2 separate regions of the Homo sapiens genome follow, and region 1 is linked to region 2. The links are contacts of gene promoters, found by promoter capture Hi-C in human tissues and cell types (Jung and others, 2019). All regions are on one chromosome and are shown on one strand. The core of a region is centred on a gene start or on the middle of the fragment in contact, and the rest is flanking DNA. Distances in the headings are between cores, read along the strand shown. Region 1 overlaps TANC1 (tetratricopeptide repeat, ankyrin repeat and coiled-coil containing 1). Region 2 holds the start of CD302 (CD302 molecule).

Region 1 (6,105 bases), core at 3,179-5,678, 590 kb after region 2:
ACAAACAAAACCTGACAACAATCTGAACGTATTGGAAACAGCAGTGAGAGAGCTTTTTGCACCATAAAATGGATGGTTTGCAGGAATCTCTTATATATTAAAGTTCTCTGGGAAAAGATTTGATTTGCAAAAACTCAATTGTCAACTTGCCGGGGACACAGTCATTCCACAAACAGGGCTATTCCTAAAATTTTAAAGCAGATCTGTCACTCAAATTCACAGGATGTGCTCCCCAGGCTCAGGATCGCTTGGCTTACAGATCACAACAATGGGTCTGTATTCCCACCCACATTTGCTTTTGGACCCAACTTGGGGGCTTGGAGAGAAGGGCGGCAGGGTCAGCGCACACAGAAGCTGCTTCCCGCTGGCAGACTATGACCTTTTCATGCATTACCCACGGATGTATGAAAACCATTCTGCAAACTGGAACTGAGTACCTCCAGAGAACAGCTTGTACCTGCAGAACCCACTTCCTGCTAGCTGAGAGGGCACTGCGGGCAGGGCAGGGCAGGGCGGCTGGGCTCTGCTTGTATGCTTATATTCACATGTGCAATTTACTTGCTTGTATTCACATGTGCAATTTACTTCCTATTATCCTGGCCTCTCCCATATTTTAAAAAATGAGTGGAAAATGAAAAAAATGAGTGTCAACATTAATTGAAAGCAGCAGGGTCCTCACAAATGTCATCTAATTGTGGCCAAGGTGAGAACTGTGAGATGTGGTGAAGGCAGTGATGCTTGACCCTCAGTGGCAGGCCCGATGGCCACACCCTGCTCAACTGTAAAGGCAGAGAACACCAGGAAAGAGTGTGCCTGACACACTGCACATTTCTCAGCTACTTTATCTCAATGGTAAAATGTAATGAGGGATTTTAGGATTTTTTCTTTTTTTTAAACTCTGGGAATGACTGCCCACCCTGCCTTGGTAACTGACTCTAAGTGGCTATATGGCGGCTGACCGGTCAGGCTCGCTTTGCTGCCACTGGGAGCTCGGCCGTCACACTGAGGGCCTCAGGGAAGCTGGCCCCCACATTCCCTGGCTGAAAGCAGCAACCTTTCCCCAAAAGGCCAGGCAATGTGCCTTGCCTCCCCGCCCCACCTTCTAGAAATAGGACTAAGATTTACAGAAGCCAAATTTCATAGCTTCACTGTGTTCTTTGTTAGGCATTTCCTCCCGTCTCTGAGCGAGGGGAAGGCTTCTATTAGAAAGAAGAACATACTTTCCAAGAGCTATAAATTTTTCACCTCTACAAAGACAAGGCAGTTATCTAACCTAATCCTCAACAATTTAAAGGATAAAATGAAAGGTAATCAAGATGGCTCTTCCAGAAAACTGTACTTGCACTGGGAGACAAACACCCCAAGCCTTGGTGTCTGGGACAAGCCTCCAACACTGCCAGCCTCAACTGAAGCTTCTGCAGGCTGGGGCGCTGCTGCTCAGTGACCTCACAAATGGAAGCCAGCACTGCCCAGGTACAGTCACATGCTGTGTGATGATGTTTCAGTCAGCGACAGACTGCGTATACAATAGCACAGTGGTCTCATAAGATGATAATACCATATTTTTATACCTTCTCTATGTTTAGACATGTTTAGACACACAAGTATTTACCTTTGTGTTATAGCTGCCTACAGTATTCAGTACAGCAATATGCTGTACAGGCTTGGAGCCTGGGAGCAATAGGCTGTGCCATCCAGGCTTGTGTAAGTACACTGGAGGATTTTCACGCAATGACCAAATCGCCTAAGGATGCATCTCTCAGAACTATCTCATGCACGAATTTAAAAAGTTGTGGTTTTGAACACCTTCCTTATTGTTTCCCATTGGCAAAACTCTCCCAGGAGGGCCAGATCTCCCAATGGCCATGATGGGGCCTGCAGAAGCAGCCTGGCTGGAGCCAAGTATGGGGATTCTGTGTTATAAGGCAACAGGCATCAACCAAGCATCATGGAAAAATGTGGCTCCCTCTGCCGACAGACATGAACCCATTTTCACCGAGCTATCTAACAGAGGTGAATACAGGGCAGAATCCAAATCTGGGTAACCAGAACACTCCTGACCATGTTACAAACTCTACTGTAAAAACACTGTCAGCCTGTATGTGCATTCAAGATTAAACAGGAACCTCAAATTGCCAACTTCTTTTAAAAAATAAAATGTGTAACTGCACCTGTAAACAGGACTTCATGTGTGTGATCAAAATTCCTTTCTTTTCCATCCTTCACTTATGACTCCATCTTCCAAAGTAATTGCAAAATTGAAGATTCCATCACTTATACATCCACTTATTCAACTGACAAATGTATAGCATACATTAACATATTATATTAATAATATTAATCAACTTATCACAACCCTGACAATACATAGCATTGTATCAACACGTATCAACTGCTGAGAGCTGCACAAAATACCCTGGGTGGATTCTCATTTAATCTTGTTAAGAACCTTTTGAACCAGGTGTCATGATGATGCCCATGTTACTGAGGTGAAATAACTGAGTCACAGGGGTTATATCATCTGCCCCAAATCACAAAGGGAATCAGTGTCAGTATCAGAAATTTAACCCAAGCAACTGAATGGACCTGAAGTCATGCTCTTGATTAAAACAGGAAGATGCTATTGGATTTAAATAACATACCATGCCATTTGTAAAGGGCTGCCTACACGATGCTCTTGGTCCTCCATATTCATAAATTCAGTGAACACAATCAACTTCTATGAGGCAAGCACTACTCTTAGTTCTCTGTTACAGATGAGGAAAATAAGCCTCCGAAATTAAACCACTTACTTAAGGTCCCACAGCTAGAGGGAGTGTGGCTAAGTCTGAGTTGTTTTTTTTTTTTTTTTTTTTTTTTTTTTTTGAGACACGTGTTGCTCAGTCGCCCAGGCTGGAGTACAGTGGCGCGATCTCGGCTCACTGCAACCTCTGCCTCCTGGGTTCAAGGAATTCCCTGACTCAGCCTCCTGAGTAGCTGAGATTACAGGTACCCGCCACCACGCCTGGCTAGTTTTTGTATTTTTAGTAGAGACGGGGTTTCACCATGTTGGCCAGACTGGTCTTGAACTCCTGACCTCGTGATCCACCCGCCTCAGTCTCCCAAAGTGCTGGGATTACAGGCGTGAGCCACTGGACCTGGCCAGTCTGAGTTCTTAGCTCCTACAATGCTGCCTCCAGGAAGTCACCTTTAAAAATATCTAAAGCATCCAACAGCCTTCTATGAGAGTTGTTTAGAATGAAAGTACCAGAAAGTGCTTCTCTTTTTCTGAGGAACTGCTGCGATTTCTCCCATGGACAATAAAAATGGTTTACAAGGATTGTGTTCCCCTCTAATTCTGGCCACATGGCATTCCACAGCCACAGTAGTAGCTCAATTTAGTATGCCATGGCACGAATGTTTGAGCGGTTCCTCATGTCCTATTCCTGACTTAGTGTTTTAAAGTTCTTATCTGCATCATTTCAAGTAAGTCTCTTCAAATCCTTTGAGGAATAATGTGTGTGCTATAAATAATGTAACCTCAATTTAAAAATAATTTCCTAAAAGATCAACAACATAAGCCATCTTTCATACAGACTTTGTTCTTCTAAGAATCCATGAGAAGACCGGACCTTTGGACAGCTGTCACTTCTAAAGTGTGCTGAGAATGTTCGCATGTGGAAGGCTGGGTTACACACCAAGTTATTTAAAGCAGGCATAAGGTTCTCTCTCTCCTCTCGGTAAGGGCTAAGCTTGTGCTGAGGACTTCATTACATGCCAGGACACCACATGAGGTCTCAGTGTAAAAAGGGGGCATTTCCACAAAAGCATTTTACACAACCTCACATCTGGCCCCCAAAACACAGAAAGAATCCAAATATCATTTCAAGAAGAAACAAGGATGATTTTTCTGTGGGAGTGTAATCCTTCCCAAAATATGAATGAATACATTTTTCTGTTGAAGGCAGAAGTATTTTTTATTAAATACTCAGGAATCACTCACTAGAAAAATGGACTCTGTACAGCAAGAACAGCTTGATGAAGGTGGTCAAGGGGCTAATTTGTTCGTGCTTGAGACACCACCCCTGGGTTTCTACCTGCTCACTGCTGGCCACTCAGCCTGCCCTACAGGGCGGGGACATGCTGACCTGACCCCTCTGCCTTCTTCGCAGAGAGGAGTGGTCTCCGGAACCCACCCACATCAGGGGCAAAACCCAGGGGTCTGTGAGACCAGGAGGATAGGGTATGGACAAACCCAGCCCCCTCAGTTCTGATCCCCTATCTGCCTCCACTGTTTGGAGGACCCCCATACACATCCTCCTCCATCCAGAGCCCTGTTACCCCTTCCATGTTGGTAACCCCACTTTGTCCCTCCCCTTACAGGGCACAGGGTCACCCCACCCCATCTTGCTCCTTTCAGGATCCTGGGTGGTCCCTCCCACGCACCCTTGAGGGTACTGGCTTACTCCCCATCGTGTTGCTTTGCCGAGGATAGTTCTGACTGACAGCAGTCTGGACTTCCATGCCCACTAATCTTACTGAACCTTCTTAGAACAAACACTTGCAGAGGAAGGAATGCCTTGATAAAAAATTTCCAAAACCAGTACTGGTGAGATGCTCAGGACCTCTGAAAAATCCAGTATCTTCAGTGTACGACAGCAAGTCGCAGTTTTCTCTACAGCATCCTCCATGTGCGTTCCATGTAACACATATTCTCCACATGCCCCAACAAGCCATGGGCAAACGCTTTCCTTCCAATCTCTCACCTGAAATTCTGTCCTGAGATGTGCATGCATCACCTAATGAGGTGGATACTTCCTGAGAAAGGCCACACATCATCAATGACAGGGATGCATCCTGAGAAATGAGTCGTTAGGTGATTGTATCATTGTGCTAATACCACATAGTGGACTTACACAAACTTCGATGGTGTAGCCTACTACATGCCTAGACTATATGGTACAGCCTTTTGCTCCTAAACTGCTAAGCTGTACAGCCTGTTACTGTAGTGGATACTGTAGGCAGCTGTAACACGGTGGTACTTGTGTAACAAAACATAGAAAAAGTAGCAACATAGAAAAAATAAAGACACAGTATTGTATGGGAACACCTTCTCACATGCAGTCCATCGCTGACAGAAACATCATTATGTGGGGGATGGCTGTATATGTGACTGCAAGGCTCAATCCAGTAGGCCTGACATTTATTTTACATTCTTACCAAAGAACAGCCCCTTCTCTCTCCAAAATGCCTAAGGTAAATTCAAATGAAGAACGGGTCATTTTTACACCAACAGTAATTAGGCATCCAGCTCCCTGTGCTCTGGGGCAGCCTTGGATGTGGGAAGCCCACCGTCCACGCCTGGGGCCTCCCTGTGACTGAAGCCAAAAGAGCCACAAAAGGGGAAAGGAAAGCAGTCCCATGGAAACAAGAGGGAAACGAAAATCATCAAAGTGTCAAATACAACAGGACCCAGCTTCGCAGCCCAATTTGGAAACAGGTGTGAGGACCCCACCCCCAAGAGGGGCCTGGAAACACCCACCCCAGCTGCAGGGCACTGCCTGAGGCTCAAGATCCAGAGGGAGCAGGTTCTGTCCAAAATTCCATCCAGAATTAGTGAACAGTAAACTACGGTGAGCACACATGCCAAGTGGAATTGCTTCAATGCGCTACACAAAGGGAGGCCTACGACGCAGCTAAATAGCCCATTCAATTCACAGCGGAGAAAATCTGGCCCATCTGAACAGAGGCAAATAGTAGCTTTGACAATAAAAATTATTTACCTGACTAAACTCCTTTAGAAAGTATTCAACAATTAAAATATTACTGACTTAACATAAAAACACTTCACATGAAGTATTTCAGTCACACTTTTAACCAACTCCGATAGGGCATCCCCTTCCAGAAATTAGGGAAGCGTAGCCCTGGGGAGCCGCCAGCGTCCTGTGCATGAAGCATGGGGCTCTGGGTGTGCTGGCGACCTTCTTTCAAACAGAAGGACCTCTGAGGAGGTGACCACGACAGGGCAGGACGACTGCCAGAGACCAGCATGAGGACACAGCACACCCAGGCTGCAGAGAGGGAGATGTTATGGACACAGATGGGGCTATGCCCACACCATGCTTG
Region 2 (6,440 bases), core at 127-2,626:
GTGTATGTAAGTTTTTAACTCATTTGGATAAATACCAAGGAGTTGTGATTGCTAGATGGTATGGTAAGAGTACGTTTAGTTTTGGAAGAAGCTTCCAAATTGTCTTCCAAAGTGGCTGTACCATTTTGCATTTGCACCAGCATTGAATGAGAGTTCTTTTTGCTCCACATCTTTGCCAGCATGTGGTCTTGTCAGTGTTTTTGGATTCTGGTATCTAATAGGTATGTAGTGGTATTTCATTTTTGTTTTCATATACAATTCAGCAATGACATATGATGTTGAGCATCTTTTCATCTATTTGCCATTATATAACTTCTTTGATGACGTGTGTATTCAGATCATCTGACCATTTTTTTTAACTGGGTCATTTGTTTTCACGTTGTTGAGTTTAGACTTGATTTTATAGAACTCTTTTGCCAATGACATGAGGCTTAAACAAGCACCCTTGCTTGACCCTGGCTAGTGTTGTCCAGAGGCCCTCATGGGTGAAGTATAATTGCACAGTTTATGCATACATTGTAGCAAACATAGCTTAAAGACTCTTCATCCAGGAGCTGGTAACAGAGAAAAGTTGTCTAAGAGACATAGTCCACTGAAAGGGGTCTTTGAAAAGGAGGATTCTGGCCAGTAGATCCAAAGAAGAAGGCTGGCAAACGCCACCTTAACCAACTGATCCAAGTTAACATCAGTGATGAGACATCGACATCTTGTCCTTCTCGAGCACGTACATCACTTCTGGGGAACTCTTTCCCAAAAAAGCGCAACCTGAATCCAATTAGAAGGAAATGTCAGACAAAATGAAACTGAGGGACATTCTACAAAACGACTGGCCAGTACTTTTTAAATGTGGTTTGATCGTGAAAGAAAAAGAATGACAGAGAACCGTCCTAGATTAAAGGGAGACTAAGGAGACACGACATGCAATGTATGATCCTGGATTGAATCTTGGAACAGAAAAGGACCCTTAGAGGGGCAATTAATGAAATGTGGTAAGTGCTGTAGATTAGCTAATCGCATTATCCCAGTGCGAGTGCCCTGTGTTTGATCACTGCACTGGCGTTATATACAATGTCAATATTTAGAGAAGCTGGCTGAAGGGTTACGGAAATCTCTTGTGCTGTTTTTGCAACATTTTCGAAAGTCCTAAATTATTTCAATTCAAATGAAAAGTTTAAAAAACAAAAATTAGAAGTTCCAGAAGGCCGCGCGCCAGCCGCTCCTGCGGGACGGGACACCCGGGTTCTCCTGGTGGGAGCCCCCAGTGCCGTTCACGTTCCGCCCGGGGGGGGGATTAAACTCGCACGCGAGAAGCACCGCCCCCGCTCCCGCCCCGCCCCGCTCCTCTCCGGCCGCGCAGCCGCTGCCGCCCACCCGCACCCGCCGTCATGCTCCGGGCCGCGCTGCCCGCGCTCCTGCTGCCGTTGCTGGGCCTCGCCGCTGCTGCCGTCGCGGGTAAGCCCTTACGTAGTCCCTCGCCGGGACCGTGCGCGACCGCCTTCGCCCCCTTCCCAACGCACGCTCTTCGTCCCCGCGCACCCGAGGGCGGCCCGCAGACGCAACACCCGGCCGGCCATCCCGCCCTTCCCTGCACGCCCGTCCCCCGTGGGTCCTGGCTCCGGGTCACCTCTCACCCGCCTGCCCTCGGGGAGGGGAGGTGGCCGAGAATAAGGGAGGGCTCTGTCTTCCTCGGAGTCCACATCCTCACCGCAGACCCCACTCCGCGGGGAGGGAACCCCCAAATTAGGCCAGTTGGCCGGAGAACTGAGGGACTTGGAGTCGCACGACGGGCGCCGTTTCAGGGCAATTTCGGGCTGAAATGAGAAGCGGGGACGTTGGTGGCGATTTCCCCTGCTGGTGCGCGGCCGGAGTGGGGTTGCTGGGATGGGGGTGGGGGCCGGAGGAAGTAGGCCCTCTTTTGCAAGCAGCGCTGTTTGTCTAGTTGGTTGGTGTTCAAGTTGTTTAAACAGGAAAACAGTTCAGCCAAATAACCCCTGGATGGAAGAGGAACGGGAATAGGCAAAGCTTGGATTTCACTGAAATCAAGGAGTTTTAAAGTTCTAGTCTGCTGTTGTGCAAGTGACATCTGAAAAATCACACACGTGATCATTCATTTACAAAACGACTCGTGAGGAAAATGCACAATTCTATTGACCGTGGTCTTTATTTTTAAAAAATTTCCATACAAGCATGTCAAAAATATGTGGATGGGGAGACTCTGGAGAACACAGACTTCCAAAAACACCACTGACTGAATAATTCCAGGAATTAAAGAGCAAAATAAACAAGAACTAAATGAGTACTTGTGTGGGCTTAAATAAAGTGCAAGAGATTTAAATAAAATGCAAGAGATTCCCCCCCCCCACCCCTTGCCCCAGATTTCACTGCGTTTTTATAATAACTGCCTGCTCGAAGTCTACTGACAGGAATATTTCAGTGGACCTCAGTGTTGGAGGCAGCAGCAGCTCAGAACTTGGATACAAACCCAAGGTTCCTTTCTTGAAAACTTCTGTGGACCTGCATTTATGACTGGTTGTGACATCTGCTGCCTATCAAAGGGGCAGAAACAAGATGTGCCCATGTTCACATTGTTCAGACTGGGAACATTAATTTTGTCTAAGACAAAGCTGGGCTGTCTCTGAACCCTCCTTCTGCACACCCTCATTTTGCGAGCCAGTAACATCTCAACTCTCATGTAAACCACCCTCTGCGAGGCTGTGCATTTGTACTTTAGGCTAGTCGAATTTTCTTGTCAGATTTTTCTTTCTTGTCAGACTTTTAAAGAAAATCAGTTTCTAGATTTTGGTATGTCTCTTCTTCAGTGAAGCTGTTTTGACCAGCAATAGAGGGCAAATTTCCCTTTGGAAATTTTTGTGCATTTCCTTTGATAAGTCCAGTGTGGATCAATAGGCTTTTCAAGAGCTTTAGAAAAGTGCATGATGAATAAATTAATGTTAATTAATCAGCTCCTCCCAGTCAGGAAGCTTTAAGGATTAATTTGGAAATGAGTGTGAGCTTTGACCTAGCTAGTTAACCAACTTATCTGCACTTCAGTAAAACAGAGATAATACTTACTCATGGGGCTATTGGGAGCATTAAGTGGGAACTCCACGTCTAGTCCCTATTACAGGCGTGGTTCATCTTGGTTTCCTTCCCTTTATTCTCTTCATACAAAATGAAGGGTAATTGTTGCAACCAGAAAACGTATGAATACCACCTTATGTATATTGGATGTTTATGGTTACTGAACACATTCATATGTATGCTAATGTTATAGGGCTGAAAAACTAAGTGTGTTTTTCATAATACTTTACAAATCTCCCATCCAAGCAAGATCAGGGGTCATATTTGGCTTAGAACTAAGTCAAGAAAGAGTTTGTTGCTGAATACCAAGATCTTAATAGAAAAGCTCTTATGATGTTGCATAATAAATATGGGTATTGCATATAAATGTGATGTTGAAACGGAAATCATTGTTATTGTCTGTCATTCTGGAGGTTATTAGTGAAGTGATCTTAACCTTGTTCTTAGCTATTATTTTGAAAATCACAGTGGACAAAACATTCTTTAAATTCCTGAGTGAAAATCCATGGCATCGCTTTAAAAAGTTTTTCCGTAAGGGTGCTTAAGCACATAATAGATGATCAGTATGTATTTATTTGGTCAGTGGTTTCCTATGCCTGGCATGAGCTGAGTGAACAAGCATGTTCCGAGTAAGTCCTCATTCTGTGATCATCATGTGGATCAGAATCTAGGGATTTTGAATTGCCATGTCCTACAAGCCTTAGATGAGGTGCCTCTGCCTTCTTCCCTGATGTCATCTCTTACCACCCTTCCTGCCATTCACTCTGTGTATCCACAGAGTAAACAGTATCTGGGTACTCCAACACCTCTGGTCCTTCTGTGCACACCACCTTCCCCCAGTCCTTGGCATGGCTGCCCCCACCTCCACCATTCAGATCTCTGTTCATATGTCACCTTCTCCGAAGCCTCCCTGAACACCCACATTCTCTGTCACATGTCCATGTTTTATCTTTTCCAAGCCTTTCTGAATGCATTGTGTTTATTCATCTGTCTTGCTTGTTGCTTCTCTTACCAGGGGAAAGAAGCTCCATAACAGAGATTTTACCATCTTGTGGATTTTTGTTTTGTTTTGATTTGTGTCTCTGCACTTTATTCTAAGTTATAATAAAAGGATGAAAAAATTTAGGTGAGTTATTTAAAAAGTAGGTAGGATAAGTGGATTGCAATTTTTTTCAAATTATATTACCTCTGCTATGCACTCATTTCATAATGAATTCAAAGCCTTAAATCATCTTAATCTATTGCTGCCACCTTTTCTTTCTTTCTTTTTTTTTTTTTCCGAGATGGAGTCTCACTCTGTCACCCAGGCTGGAGTGCGGTGGCGCAATCTCGGCTCACAGCAACCTCTACCTTCTGGGTTCAAGCAATTCTCCTGCCTCAGCCTCCCGAGTAGCTGGGATTACAGGCATGCGCCACCATGCCTGGCTAACTTTTGTATTTTTAGTAGAGATGGGGTTTCACCATGTTGGCCAGGCTGGTCTCAAACTCCTGGCCTCGTGATCTGCCCACCTCGGCCTCCCAAAGTGCTGGGATTACAGGTGTGAGCCACCGTGCCCGGCCTGATGCCACCTTTTCTGACTCTTGTGTATGGCACAGTTATGTTTCAGGGGAAATTATCTCAGATTAAATATTAGAGTATTTTAAAATAAATTTTGAGCTGGGCGTGGTGGCTCACGCCTGTAATCCCAGCACTTTGGGAGGCCGAGGCGGGTGGATCACGAGGTCAGGAGATCGAGACCATCCTGGCTAACACGGTGAAACCCTGTCTCTACTAAAAATACAAAAAATTAGCCGGGCGTGGTGGCAGGCACCTGTGGTCCCAGCTACTCAGGAGGCTGAGGCAGGAGAATGGCGTGAACCCAGGAGACAGAGCTTGCAGTGAGCTGAGATCGCGCCACTGCACTCCAGCCTGGGCGACAGAGCGAGACTCAGTCTCAAAATAAATAAATGAATAAATAAATAAATAAATAAATAAATAAATTAATTAATTTTGAAATGTTAATGTTTATTTTTCTTCCAATGAAAAAGTGAAATTTCAATTAGGTATTATTTCAGGACTTCTTTTACTGTTGAGAATCTTTTAACAATTTGCTTATGTGTTGAAAACTAGTTTTGCAGCAAGGTTACTTTCCATAATTTTTATTGTGCATATCAAGTATTTCATTCCTTCTGTGGGTTATTTAGTGTTTTTTTTTTTATTATTTTATTTTATTTTATTTTATTTTATTTTATTGTTTTGAGACAGGGCCTCACTCTGTCACCCAGGCTAGAGTGCAGTGGTGCAATCATGGCTCACTACAGCCTTGACCTGCTGGGCTCAAGTGATCCTCCCACCTCAGCCCCCTGAGTAGCTGGGACTACAGGTGCATGCCACCATGCCCTGCTAATTTTTTTTTTTTTTTTTTGTAGAGGTGGGGTCTCACTTTGTTGCCCAGGCTAGTCCCAAACTCCTGAGCTCAAGTGATCCTCCTACCTCAGCCTTCCAAAGCTCTGGGATTACAGGTGTGAACTGCCACGCCTGGCCTATTTTAGATTTTGAGAGCAAATCTTGAGACCAAATCTTTAAAAAATAGACCAGTGATGCCCAAAGAGAAAGGTACAGATTAACAATGGCACACCCCTTCTATGAATATACATTATAACAGCCCTTCTGAAGAGGGAAGTGATGGGACAATATGGAGATGGATGTCTTGAAAGCTAGATTGGGAAGAGTGATATGGAGAGGGGATGAGGTGTCAGAGTGCCTCAATTTATTTGGGATTCAGAGAGATCTTGAAGCTCAGAGTACAGCCACAGAATCTCTGGATTAGTCAGGGACTTGGAACAGCCACTCCCTCCTCCATACATTATAAATGTAATAAATAGCCCCTCTTCTTCATCTGTCTGTGCCACAGTTGCCCTTGCGGAAGTTATGTGACTACAACTCATATCTTAATGGGAGAGGAGCAAAGGTCTTATTATTGACAATGAAAATGAAAAAGAAGTCTTTCCCTTTTCCTTTGTTAACATTTAGAACAAGTATGTCCCAAGAATCACTTCCTCATGCTGTGCCTGTTTTTTTTTTCTTTTTTTAAAAAAAAGAGAGACAGAGAACTTATAAAGGAACAGAGAGTTCTATTAGATTTGACTGGTAATGCAAAGTATTCCTGTGGATATGACATTATCTTCTTTTAGCACATGATAATTTTAGGCAGAGGATCTATATAGAAACTTTTGGAGTTATGCTAAGTACAGCTTTTAAAATATTCATGAGGCTCCTGAATTTCTGTACGTATTAAAGAATTATAAAATTATAAAATCCCTAAGAGTCATTTAAGTGCATTATTAATAACAACCTATCATTCAGGACTGCTGTGAAG

What was found. Contacts are between HindIII fragments. The study calls those that stand out against the background at their distance.
Region 1: a fragment that was not itself captured here is called in contact with the fragment with the promoter of CD302 in region 2 in 1 of the 25 tissues and cell types used here (lymphoblastoid cells).

What each region holds. Positions count from the first base shown.
Region 1 is chr2:159,204,458-159,210,562 of GRCh38, reverse strand. The region is part of intron 19 of TANC1 (tetratricopeptide repeat, ankyrin repeat and coiled-coil containing 1); the gene reads right to left. Among named protein-coding and RNA genes, the nearest start is that of MIR6888, 21 kb to the right of the region's middle. RefSeq lists an enhancer at 521-740. The HindIII fragment of the contact is 3,711 bases long and covers 2,573-6,105 here.
Region 2 is chr2:159,793,144-159,799,583 of GRCh38, reverse strand. CD302 (CD302 molecule) reads left to right here and starts at 1,376. Exons shown (of 6, transcript NM_014880.5): 1 at 1,376-1,452. The coding sequence starts at 1,386. All of the region lies in intron 33 of LY75-CD302 (LY75-CD302 readthrough), which reads left to right. It overlaps LOC124906083 (a long non-coding RNA gene), which reads right to left and starts at 4,394. Exons shown (of 2, transcript XR_007087273.1): 1 at 1,632-4,394; 2 at 1-765. The HindIII fragment of the contact is 5,989 bases long and covers 1-2,502 here.